Linked DNA regions of Homo sapiens: all the other regions are linked to region 4. The links are contacts of gene promoters, found by promoter capture Hi-C in human tissues and cell types (Jung and others, 2019). All regions are on one chromosome and are shown on one strand. Each heading gives the region's core, a stretch centred on a gene start or on the middle of the fragment in contact. The rest is flanking DNA. Distances are from core to core; before and after follow the strand shown.

The links. Contacts are between HindIII fragments. The study calls those that stand out against the background at their distance.
Region 1: a contact is called between a fragment that was not itself captured here and the fragment with the promoter of ZDHHC14 in region 4, in 1 of the 25 tissues and cell types used here (mesenchymal stem cells).
Region 2: a contact is called between a fragment that was not itself captured here and the fragment with the promoter of ZDHHC14 in region 4, in 2 of the 25 tissues and cell types used here (dorsolateral prefrontal cortex and mesenchymal stem cells).
Region 3: a fragment that was not itself captured here is called in contact with the fragment with the promoter of ZDHHC14 in region 4 in 1 of the 25 tissues and cell types used here (dorsolateral prefrontal cortex).

Annotation. Positions count from the first base shown.
Region 1 is chr6:157,818,677-157,821,376 of GRCh38, reverse strand. No RefSeq gene overlaps it. Among named protein-coding and RNA genes, the nearest start is that of SNX9, 3.2 kb to the left of the region's middle. The HindIII fragment of the contact is 3,766 bases long and covers 1-2,700 here.
Region 2 is chr6:157,837,001-157,839,700 of GRCh38, reverse strand. The region is part of intron 1 of SNX9 (sorting nexin 9); the gene reads right to left. Among named protein-coding and RNA genes, the nearest start is that of SNX9, 15 kb to the right of the region's middle. The HindIII fragment of the contact is 7,828 bases long and covers 1-2,700 here.
Region 3 is chr6:157,715,629-157,718,420 of GRCh38, reverse strand. No RefSeq gene overlaps it. Among named protein-coding and RNA genes, the nearest start is that of SNX9, 110 kb to the left of the region's middle. The HindIII fragment of the contact is 5,901 bases long and covers 1-2,792 here.
Region 4 is chr6:157,379,844-157,382,601 of GRCh38, reverse strand. It overlaps ZDHHC14 (zDHHC palmitoyltransferase 14), which reads right to left and starts at 1,412. Exons shown (of 9, transcript NM_024630.3): 1 at 336-1,412. The coding sequence starts at 580. It overlaps LOC124901446, which reads left to right and starts at 1,511. Exons shown (of 1, transcript XM_047419644.1): 1 at 1,511-2,758. The coding sequence starts at 1,901. RefSeq lists enhancers at 355-494, 1,253-1,864, 2,476-2,758 and silencers at 585-634, 1,145-2,034, 2,195-2,274. The HindIII fragment of the contact is 9,861 bases long and covers 1-2,758 here.

The DNA.
Region 1 (2,700 bases), core at 144-2,643, 440 kb before region 4:
TAAATGTGAAGGCTGGGTACAGCTCTCTCTGCAGCCGTTCAACAATGCATCCCTTGATAGGAAGGTGCAAAGTTAGGGGCACACCTGTGAAGACAGGCCTTTCCACATGCTCATCTGGCAAATCCTATGCAAATAGTCATCCTGGGCACCCAGCACCATGAAAGCAAGAAGACTAGAGACTTCAAGCTTTTCCCACCAGAACAATTTCATAACCCTGGTTTTATTTTTTAGAAGTAATGGTGGAGGGCTAAGGTGGAAGGATTGCTTAAGCCCAGGTGTTCAACACCAGCCTGGGCAACATAGTGAGACCTCATTTCTAGAAGTTTTTTGTTGTTGTTGTTGTTTTAAAAAGAGCAAGACTGTGAAAAACAAATGAAAAAGTACATAAACAGAGATAAACATGGCCGGGCGCTGTGGCTCACGCCTGTAATCCCAGCACTTTGGGAGGCTGCGGCGGGCGGGTCACGAGGTGAAGAGATCGAAACCATCCTGGCCAACATGGTGAAACCCCGTCTCTACTAAAAATACAAAAATTAGCTGGGCATGGTGGCACGCGCCTGTAGTCCCAGCTACTCAGGAGGCTGAGGCAGGAGAATCACTTGAACCCGGAAGGCGGAGGTTGCAGTGGGCCGAGATCGAGCCACTGCACTCCAGCCTGGGCAAGACTCCGACTCAAAAAAAAAAAAAAAAAAAAAGAGATAAACATGTGCACTTTCACAATAAGCCACACCGAAGGGATCTTGAACATAACTAAAATCTTTTTCACATTTTTAGTAATGAATTGGGTAGTATATCTCCAGTAAATACTGCTAAACTTAGGAGTTTTATTTTTATATACGTCAGTCAAAATCAACATTACTTCATGAATGTTATAGAGGAGACCCACTTTCATAGAATATATTTGTATATAGAGAGAGAGACTGGGTCTTGTTCTGTCACCCAGGCTGGAGTGCAGTGGCCCAATCTCGGCTCACTGCAGCCTCCGCCTCCCAGGTTCAAGTGATTCTCCTGCCTCAGCCTCCGCAGTAGCTGGGATTACGGGCACCTGCCACCATGCCTGGCTAAGTTTTTTTTTATTTTTTATTTTTTATTTTTAGTAGAGACAGGGTTTTGCCACGTTGGCCAGGCTGGTCTCAAACTCCTTATCCTAAGTGATCCGTCTGCCTCAGCCTCCCAAAGTGCTGGGATTACAGTCGTGAGCCACTGCACCCGGTGGTGGCGTTTGTCTTCTGCTCCCACTTGATCAACCATGCATATCTCTCTTCTGTCCACCTCCGTCCTTTGAGCGAGCTTCCTTAGAGTTGATTCTCTACGCAGGCCTGCCTTTAGAACCCAGAACCCAGAACCCTGGGCCATGCTAAGTTCAGATTTTCTTCTACAGCATGAACTTCCATTACTCCAGGGGTGAGAACACAATTAGTTAAGCAATTGGATTTGCATTTGCAGACTGCGTTTGGTTATTACTAGATTGCACTTTCAAAAGAAAAAGACCTGGAGGCAGAGCAACAGAGCCACTCTGTTTAGGCTTTGTACTCTAGCTGCTTTTTTTTTTTTTTTTTTTGAATCATGCCACAGGAGGTAAAGTGATTAGGATTCACAGGAAGCTTCGTCCAGCCACACAGCTGGGGGGACAGGAAAATAATGACCACCACCTCTTCCCTGCGTTTGTTCAGTATGGCCAGGTGTTTTTATTCAAAATTAGATTCTCCTTTGGTTTTTAAGAGCTCAGAGCCCAACTAAATGCTTGGTCAACTAATGGGAAACTAGCATGGGAAAGTGCAACTATGGGAACTAATGTGGAACGGAGTGAAAATGTGTGATGGTCACCTAATGTAAGGATCGGAGGATGAGAATAATGTGTAACAATACAGAGTCAGCCTGGGTCTGGCACAAGGGGATACCTCCTCTCACTTTAGGGCATGAATTTAATGAGGTTAAAGAAAACCTTGGGGTGACCTTGAAAATAAACGTGGAAAGGAGTGCAGCTGGTGCCATTCCAATCCTAATAAACGTATGACGTCCTCACCTTGGACTGGATGCTGTTACAGGTGAGGGAGACAAAAGTCCCTGCTCTCTTAGAACTTAACAATCTGTAGAGGGTGGGGGAAGTCAATAAACTACAAATAAATGTCTAATGTGCCAGGTGCTTTTATAAGTGCTCTGAAGAATCTTTATAGGAATAAAGAGAAGCAGGAGAGGTTTTTTCCTATAAGGTTTCCCCTTGGCATTAGACTAGCTGAATGTATGTATGAAAAGTGTATGGTTTTAAAATTATGTTTGTTTTAGTTGGTTAGCTGATTGGTTGGTTTTCATTTTTGTTCCATTTTGACTAAGTCACATTTCTTTCTCCATCGTCTGGGAGACACAGAGCCGTAAACAGTAACGGGACATAGTGTCCAGAACTAGAAATTGAGCAGAAATCTGACTGCTAGGACCTGAGCAGTCCAGGAAGGGACAGTTGGCATGGGCAGAGAGAGACTGGAGGCTAGGGAGGCTGCATGGATGGCAGAGGTGGCAGCAGCAGGCGGTGTTAGGCTGGAACAGGAACCGTTTGCTCAAGGTTCTATACTAGACTGTTTGCTGAGTTTGGGTAGTTCCGACTCCCAGAAGGACTGAGCTGTGAGGTGAGGGCAGCAAGAGAAGATTGGCTCACCAGTTGGCTTCCCAAATGAAGTCCCAGCCTGTAGGATCCCTGGTGTC
Region 2 (2,700 bases), core at 28-2,527, 460 kb before region 4:
GCTTCACCCTGGGCAAGAGGCGGTGGCCTGGGAACTAAAATATTATAGGTCTGCTTCCCCAGCAGGACGGGGATGTAATTTGTTGTAAATTATTACAGAAAAGCAAAATTATAATTTTTCCCCCACTTGGACTGTGCAATGGAATTCACACCTGAATCCATTCAATTATTTGTATTTTACAGATAAGGAAAGTGAAGCAGTAAGTAACTTTTCAAAGTAATGTATTAATAACTGGACTGGGATTTGAACCCAGGCTCCTAATCTCTATGCTATATCACCATTACATGAAAATACATATGCTTCATAATCAGGTAGAACTAATTTTATTCATTCATTGCATCTCTAATAAAAGACATAATTTCTCTTTTATTCTAAATATAAAATTCAAGAGAAACAAAACACTAATAGGGGAAATAGGCTTTTATGTAACAGCTATAATGAATCACAGAGGAATGCCAATGACCTCAACATTAATTCATTACATATATACATCCCCACACACATATAACAGTAATTATACACAAGGACAATTCATTGATACCTAACACCAAAAAGGTACTATGAAGTCCAGCGTTTTTAAGTAAACCTGTATTTTATTAACCGAATCTATATACATTTTAAAGAGTTAAAGATCCCCTGACAATTCACCAGCTGGGAATCCCTTCTCTAGAATAAGCTCTGGGTATTGCAAACCAGGTAAACAAAACACATCAAACAACAGCTTACCTGGAAATCAAAAGGAGCAGATCCATTTTAACCATTCCAAGACGCTATGTCCTCGGCCACAAAGGATTTAGAACAAGCCTGGGCACAGACTACTTGCCTCGAATGTTCACTGGTTCCTAAGAGTGGCTTAGTTTAACCAGTGCCAGATAAAATTTTAGAGTACAACCAGGGAAAGTGGACATTTACACTTCTCTAAAATGTACTTTCTGTCCTGCAAGGTCAGTCACTAAAATAGGAGCTCTTTAAATGAGACCTCAAACTAAACATGCCTTCAAGTATTTAACACCATTCCCTAAACTAGAGAAATGATCCTCTTCTACATCATGAGTAACATAATGTCAGAATATTTAGCACTTCTACATAAAATTTTCACACTATGGCTCTTTATTGATATACATTTATTTTTACTCTTAAGTTTCCAATGGCTAAATGGAGGGAAACAGGTCAGAGGGTCTCATTTCTGACTCCAAATACTGAGCTATCTCACTGTACACTATGTATACATACTTTTACCACAGCAACCGTACACCTAATGGAAGATATCTAAGTGTCTGTGTTCTCCATTAGACTGTAAATTCTCTGGATAGAAAAATATACATGCATTTTCACTTACAGTATAAATTCTAGAGAGAGACTGTTGAATAAAAAAAAAAAAAATTATTGGTCGAGCACAGTGGTTCATGCCTGTAACCCTAGCACTTTGGGAGGCTGAGGTGGGCAGACTGCTTGAGCCCAGGAGTTCAAGACCAGCCTGGGCAACATGGCAAAACACCATCTCTATAAAAAATACAAAAATTAGCCAGGCATGGTGATGCATGCCTGTAGTCCCAGCTACTTGGGAGGCTGAGGTGGAAAGATTGTTCGAGCCCGGGAAATTGGGGCTGCAGTGAGCTGCTACTGTACTCCAGCCTGGGCAACAGGGTGAGGTTCTGTCTCAAAAAAACAAACAAAATTTGATTTTTGGAAGCAATGTAGCATACTGAATATTTCTGTCAATATCCCTTGATGTTCATGCATAATAATATTCTAATGTTAACCACAGCCAACAATTACATGTATTCCTTCCATAATTAATGGTACAGCATATGCTGTTCACGGAACCCACAAGAAACTGAACAGTGCAGTTCAGTTGCCACCTTGTTTAAATGCCAACGACGGCTTCACGATCTGCTGCCCTTCTCTTATTTAGACACCCGTTACTTCTTACTGACTGCAGAGACAGGTCATATGAACACAGACAGCATGCCCATGCCTTCATGCATATGGGTCCTATAATAATACATGGGTGGATTTGATTATTCAGAGGTAGATTTACCTAGTTTGGGGACTACATTCTTTTTTCTAGCTTTGACAAACATTTGTTTCTTTACTTCCTTAAAGCTTCTAAGTGGGCAAACAGGAAAAATGAAGCCGCTGAAATTCAAATTCATCAAAATTAGGTATGGGTACTTACCACACAAATAACATTAAAAACTGGATTTACACAAAGGCATGTATTATCTGACTTATAAGTAATTTAAGAACAGGATTCTTCTCTCCTAGTGAATTAAAAGTTATTTTCATTATATAATCACGGTAGGAACATATTATACAATGCAAATAAATCTGGACTGATTACTGTTTTAATAACACACAAAACTGTATCGCATGTTTTCTGGCTAACTTAAAAGGCAATAGGAAGAGTAGTAACCAGCCTCCATGGTAATGTGAGATTGTAACAGTGTTGAGACATTTTGCATATAATACCAACGATCAATCAAAAGAACTGAAAAGTTACTGACAACACTACAAGTTGGCGAGAAACTAAATAGCTTCTGAGAATATTTTACGGATCTGTGATTTTCTGCATCATATGAACCCAGTTAGATAAAATAATCCTTTAAGCAAGACACAAGTGTTCACTGCACACGGCATGCTAGTGCAGCCACCCAATTTACGGCCTCACAGATCTTAGGGACCAACCAAGGACAGAAC
Region 3 (2,792 bases), core at 71-2,570, 340 kb before region 4:
GGAAAAATGAAACGCTCATACACTGTTGGTGAGAATGGAAGTTAGTACAACCTCTGTGGAAAATTGGAGAGTTCTCAAAGAAGGAAAAATAGAACTACCCTTGGATCTGGCAATCCTACTACTGGTTGTTATATACCTGAAGGAAAATAAATCATTATATAAAAAAGACACCTGGACTGTCAGCTGTAGCAGTATTCACAATAGCGAAGTCCTGGAATCAACCCAAGTGCCCATCACCAGATGATTGGATTAAAAAGTGGTACATACATACATCATGGAATACAACTCAGCCATAAAAAAGAATGCAATATTGTCTTTTGCAGCAACATGGATAGAACTGGGGGCCATTATCCTTAGTGAAATGGCCCAGAAACAGAAAATCCAAAACTTCACTTTCTTACTTATATGTAGGTACCCCCAGACATACAGAGGGAAATAATAGACACTGGAGACTCCAAATGGTGGGCAGGTGGGAGGGGTGAGGGATCACCTCTTGGGTTCATTGTACACTATTTGGGTAATGAGCATACTGAAAGCCCCGATTTCACCACTGTGCAATATATTCATGTAAAACAACTGCATTTGTACCCCTAAATCCATAAAAATAAAACATTTAATAAAACTAAAAAAGACTTTGAAAAAAATAAGAGGCTCATGCCAAACCTGAGTGGCATTTCTATAGCTATGCTTTGAAGGCCCATCCTTAAACACGCCCGGCTCAGCCTCAGTTCCTTGCACGTGACCTACTTTTTCAAGAAAACATTTATGGAGCACTTCCTGTGCGTAAGACCTTGGTGTTAGGAGCTGCAGAGGCAAGACTGTTCCTTACAACCTGGTTTCCTTCTGGATGCTTCCTACCTAGTGAGCACCAGGCAGTAAATAAAATAAGGGTGGAGCCATGGCTCTGAGCAGGGGGTGGGCACTGTGGTGTGGGAGAAGGGGGTACTTCTCCCTCCTCAGGCTGGAAGAGAGGTAGAGCAGGCATGCACTCTGACCCGAGCAGGGCGGGCCAGCCGAGCACAAGCTTCTTTCACTTAAAGGAGCAGGAATGATAAAGAGTAACTTAGCTAGGCTGGGTGGGGTGGATCACACTTGTAATAGCAGCACTTTGGGAGTCTGAGGCCCAAGAGTTCTAGACCAGGCTGGGGAATACAGCCAGACCCTCATCTCTACAAAAAATGAAAATTAGCTGGTGTGGTGGTGCATGCTTGTAGTCCCAGCTACTTGGGGGACTGAGATGGGAGGATTGTTGAGCCAGGAGTTTGCGGCTTCAGTGAGCTATGATCGCACCACTGCACTCCAGCCTCGGTGACAGAGCAAGACCCTGTCTCAAAACAAACAAACAAACACCAAAAAAACCAAGGGACGAACGCTGGCTAGATGGATCAGGTGTCACAGCCATTGCTGTTTGGCCAGTAAAATGCAGCCCAGCAAGTGCGGAGATGACAGACGGGCATGGGATTGCTGAGCAGGGGTTCGCAAAGGACAGAGGTACTGGACACTGAATTTGCTTTGTGTTGATATTGTTTCCCCTTTTCCCAAAAAGAGGCATGGGAAGCATGGCATGAATCACTTATGGGCAACGTGAGACAAATTTCTAAAATGGTTTGCTGCACGCAACCAATTTCACATTGAAAGCCACTCCTGCTAAATGCTGAAAAGCCATAAATCATCCAGCCTAATGGATTTTGTCCCATCTATTCAGTATCTTCCAGGGCATTGAATTTAGAATGTAATGCACTAAGAAAAAAACAAAACAAAACACCTCCCTAGAAAACCATATAAGCTTGAACATTTTCAAAGTAAAATCGCTCATGCTAAAAGCATCCCTCCCTCCTTGTGAAAAGACCTTGACCACTTCTCTCTTGCTGGTCTCCCCGTAGCAGACAACGGCTCGCCTCCCAGTGCCACAGGAAGAACGTGGCTGCCTCAACATGAGCCCAGCCCTGCCACTCCAGGTGTGAGACCTGGGCAAGCAGCATCAGTCTTGCAGCCACAGCTTTCTTGTCCATCCAGTGGACCTAGGGCTATTGTGACTATAAATGAAAAAAGAACCTAAGACAGCCCTGGCCTTAAGTAGTTGCTTAAAACGTGATGGCCGGCATGATGGTTTTTTAAACATTTGGGTCCCCTGCTCTCTTCCCCCATGTTTCCTAGTGTCTGGGTTGGAGGCAGCCTTAGCCACCTTCTTCTTACCTTGCCTTCCCTCCTTCCTACCTGTGTCCAGGACAAAATGCCTGAGGAATGTCTCTGCTTCATTAAGCAGCAAAACACACAATGACCCTTGTCATTATAGCCGCTATTCCTGGTGGGCGAGGGTCCACCCAGCTCTGGCTTCAGTTAAGCTTCTGACTGGGGAGAGCCTGGGATCCTTTTTTGGGGAAATGGCTCACTAGTTCTTTGACTGGGTGGGGCTATTTTCCAGGCTGCAAGAAAAGAGCCTCGCCCCTGCTGCTCCGAGGCCAGGCTTCTCCCTGCAGAGCCTGGGTCAGATCAGCTGGGATTCCAGGGCTGACCAATTTCGTCATGAGGGTTGCTCTAATTCACTGTTTGGGAAACTCAGCCCTGGAAAACAAAACTGTGTTGCAAGATTTCTTCATTCCTTGGTTTGCACACCATCAAATTACGCATGAGTTTAATGTAATTTGAGCTTTTCTCTCAGATGAAACCCATGGCAAATACACAGAGGAGCCAAAATGCCTACTTTTTAGGCTTTATCTTGATTTTTTTTTCTTTTTATAGGCCACGTATCCCAAATCTTTATAAAAGAGAATAACAAAAACACACACAGA
Region 4 (2,758 bases), core at 163-2,662:
TGGGTCCCCAAACTCGGTAGAGAGCGCCCCAAGGATCAGGGACCGGCGGCCCCACCTGCTGGGTCCCATCCGCCACCTGGATTGGCAAGGCCTGGCCCCCCTTGCAAGTGGACCCCTTCCCTCCCTGCTCCCAGAAGCCCAGCCCAGAACGGCGTTCTTTCCGGGGGCCCAAAAGCAATCAGACCTTTAAAAGAAAAAAGAGGGAGCGCAGACTGGCATTATATAACAATTTACAGTAGATAAGACTTCTAGAAAACGAAAGCAGCCCGAGGAGGGGCGGGGGACAGGGGAGACCAGGGGAGTGCGGCGTCGGGGGAGCGGTCGCCACCACTTACTCGAAGGCGAAGAAGAGTCCGCTAGTGACCAGGATGAGGACGAGCGTCAGGTAGAAGACGCCCGTCTGCCGGGCCATCATGATCCTCCCGTTACAGAAGAACTTGTTTCTTCCCGGGAACACCTCCCATTTCCTCCGGGCCGCGATTTTCTTCTTCTTGTGGGGCGACTCCATGGGGGAGGAGCTGTGGGTGCTGATCTGGCTGTACTCGCAGTCTTTCATGGGCCCGCCGCCGCCGGGAGGCATCCACGAGGGCAGCCGGCTGGGGGCGCACACCCCCAGGAGCCCCCCGGCCGCGCGGGCCCCGCCGAGCCACGACCGCCGCCGGCCGCCCGGCCGCCCCCCGAGCCGCGGCGCCGCGGCCCCTACACGGGCTCCCGGCTCGGCGACAACTTTGCCGAGGACACCCAGGTTAACCCTCCGGGGAGCCCAACTGTCATAGCAGAATCCCCGCTCCGTGAGGGGACGGCGCTGGTCCGCAGCCCGCGGCAGCACTCCTCCGTCGCTTCCAGCCCGCGTCCCGGGGCGCGGGGCTCAGCCCGGCCGGCCCCCGGGTCGCCGAGCGCCCGCCCCCTCGCGCGGCTGCCCGCTCGGCCCCGCAGCCCCCGGCTCCCCGGCCGCGCCTCGGCTCTGGCCCGCCGACCCCCGAGCACTGCGCCCCGAGGGGACACGAGGCGGCGGCCCCGGCGCCGGCTTCCTCGGGAGCCACTTCTGCGGCGCGGCCAGGTTGGGTCCACTCCTTCCTCCGGCAGCGGATCCTCCCAGGAGAGAGCGCTGGCGACTGGGCGGCCGCGCGCGGCACCGGCAACCCCTCCCAGGGGTGGGGACAACCACGCACGTTTTTCTGTCAGGAGCCTCTCGGCGAGAGCCGGGGCGCCGCTCGCACCGCGACCCGGTGTCGCTGCGCCTGGCAGCCTAGTCGAATCCGCGGCCCCCGCGCGGGGATGCGCGGGCCGAGGGCGGCGGCGGCTCGCGGGCCGCGCGGCGAGGGCTCCCTTGCTCCCTCCTACCCGGAGGAAGCGGCCCCGGCGCGAGGAGGGCCGCGGGGACACAGCACAGACACTTGTTTGCAAGGCTCAGCCCGGCGCGCGCGCGGCGCTCCGAGTGGGTCCGCCTCCTCCGGGCCGGGTGGGCGGTGGCCTCGCGCCTCACCCGCGGCTCCTCCTCCTGCTCCTCCTCCTCCTCGCCCGCGAAGCCAGGGCACCGGCGCAGCGAGATTCCAGCCCCAGCCCCCTCGGGCGGGCGCCCTGGGGTGTGGAAGGCGCGGGGCTCCCTGTGGCATCGCCCAAGTAGGGATGGGGTCGGGCGCCCGCGGCCCCGCCGCGCAGTGCGCTCCTGGCCGACTTCAGTCCGTCTCGCGGCTTCTTCCGGGTTTATCCCGCGCAGCAGCTGCCGCCTCGGGACACGCTCATTCCCACGGCCACCGGCAAGCCACTCCTGGCGACTCCCCGGGACCTGAGGAGCCGCGGCGCGGAGGTGACCCTCCCCGGCCTGCGCCTCCCTTCTTCCTCCTCCCCAGCTGGGCGCGTGGTCGCGTCGCCCGGGGACTCTGGTGATGCCCGAGAAATGGGCTGGGGGTGCCGGGTGCCAGGATGGGGTGGGGCGGCCCTAGGCCGGCCTGACTTCGGGACCGGGCTGCGGGCGAGGGTCTCGGGGCCCGGCTCGGCCGGCTTCCGGGCCGAGAAAGAAGGGCAGAGGAAGCGGTCAGGGTCCCCTCCGGCCCCGGCCTCCCTCCCGGAGTATAAGCCCTTGGAGGCCAGGTTTTGGGTTGCTGCCGCCCAGCTCTTTCGGTCTCCACTTCTCCCCACGGACGTTTACAGCTGCTCGCTTTATTTCTCCCTCCATTCCCCCGTGGAGCCCCCTCGGCAGCGGAGGGGTCGCGTGCTTCTCCTCTCCCGCCTGCGCCTCCCCCCTTCCCACCCGACAGCCCAGGAGGAGCTGCGGGCGCGGCCCTGGGACGGCCGGAGCCTGGGGCTTCTGCTCGCTCGCGCCCTCCCAGGCGTTGCCGCGGGTCCGAGCCCCCGCAGAGGTGGGCATAGCCCCGGGGCCGCAGAAAACGAAGGCAGCTGGGCAGGGATGCTCAATTTCCCGAGCCCCACTTTCCTTTCACAGCCCACTGGGATGTGTAGTTCTTCCGCCCGCAGGCCTGCGCCGAGGAGAAGCACGACTCGGGGCCTTAGAAACTACAAGTCCCTGCATCCCCCGCGACAAGGGCAGGAGAGGCGTGGTGCTGGGCGTTCTGGGGCTAGGTGGTGGGAGATGGGAACCAACAAAGGGGGTTGTGGGGAACGGTGCCTTCTCTGTACTGGGCAGTTTGCACGTTACACATGTTCTTTGTCTAATCTTCGCCGGAACCCGGTGAGGCATTATTGTATCCAGCTTAGAGAAAGCTTAACTACTGGCCAAACATCACAAAGCTCCCAA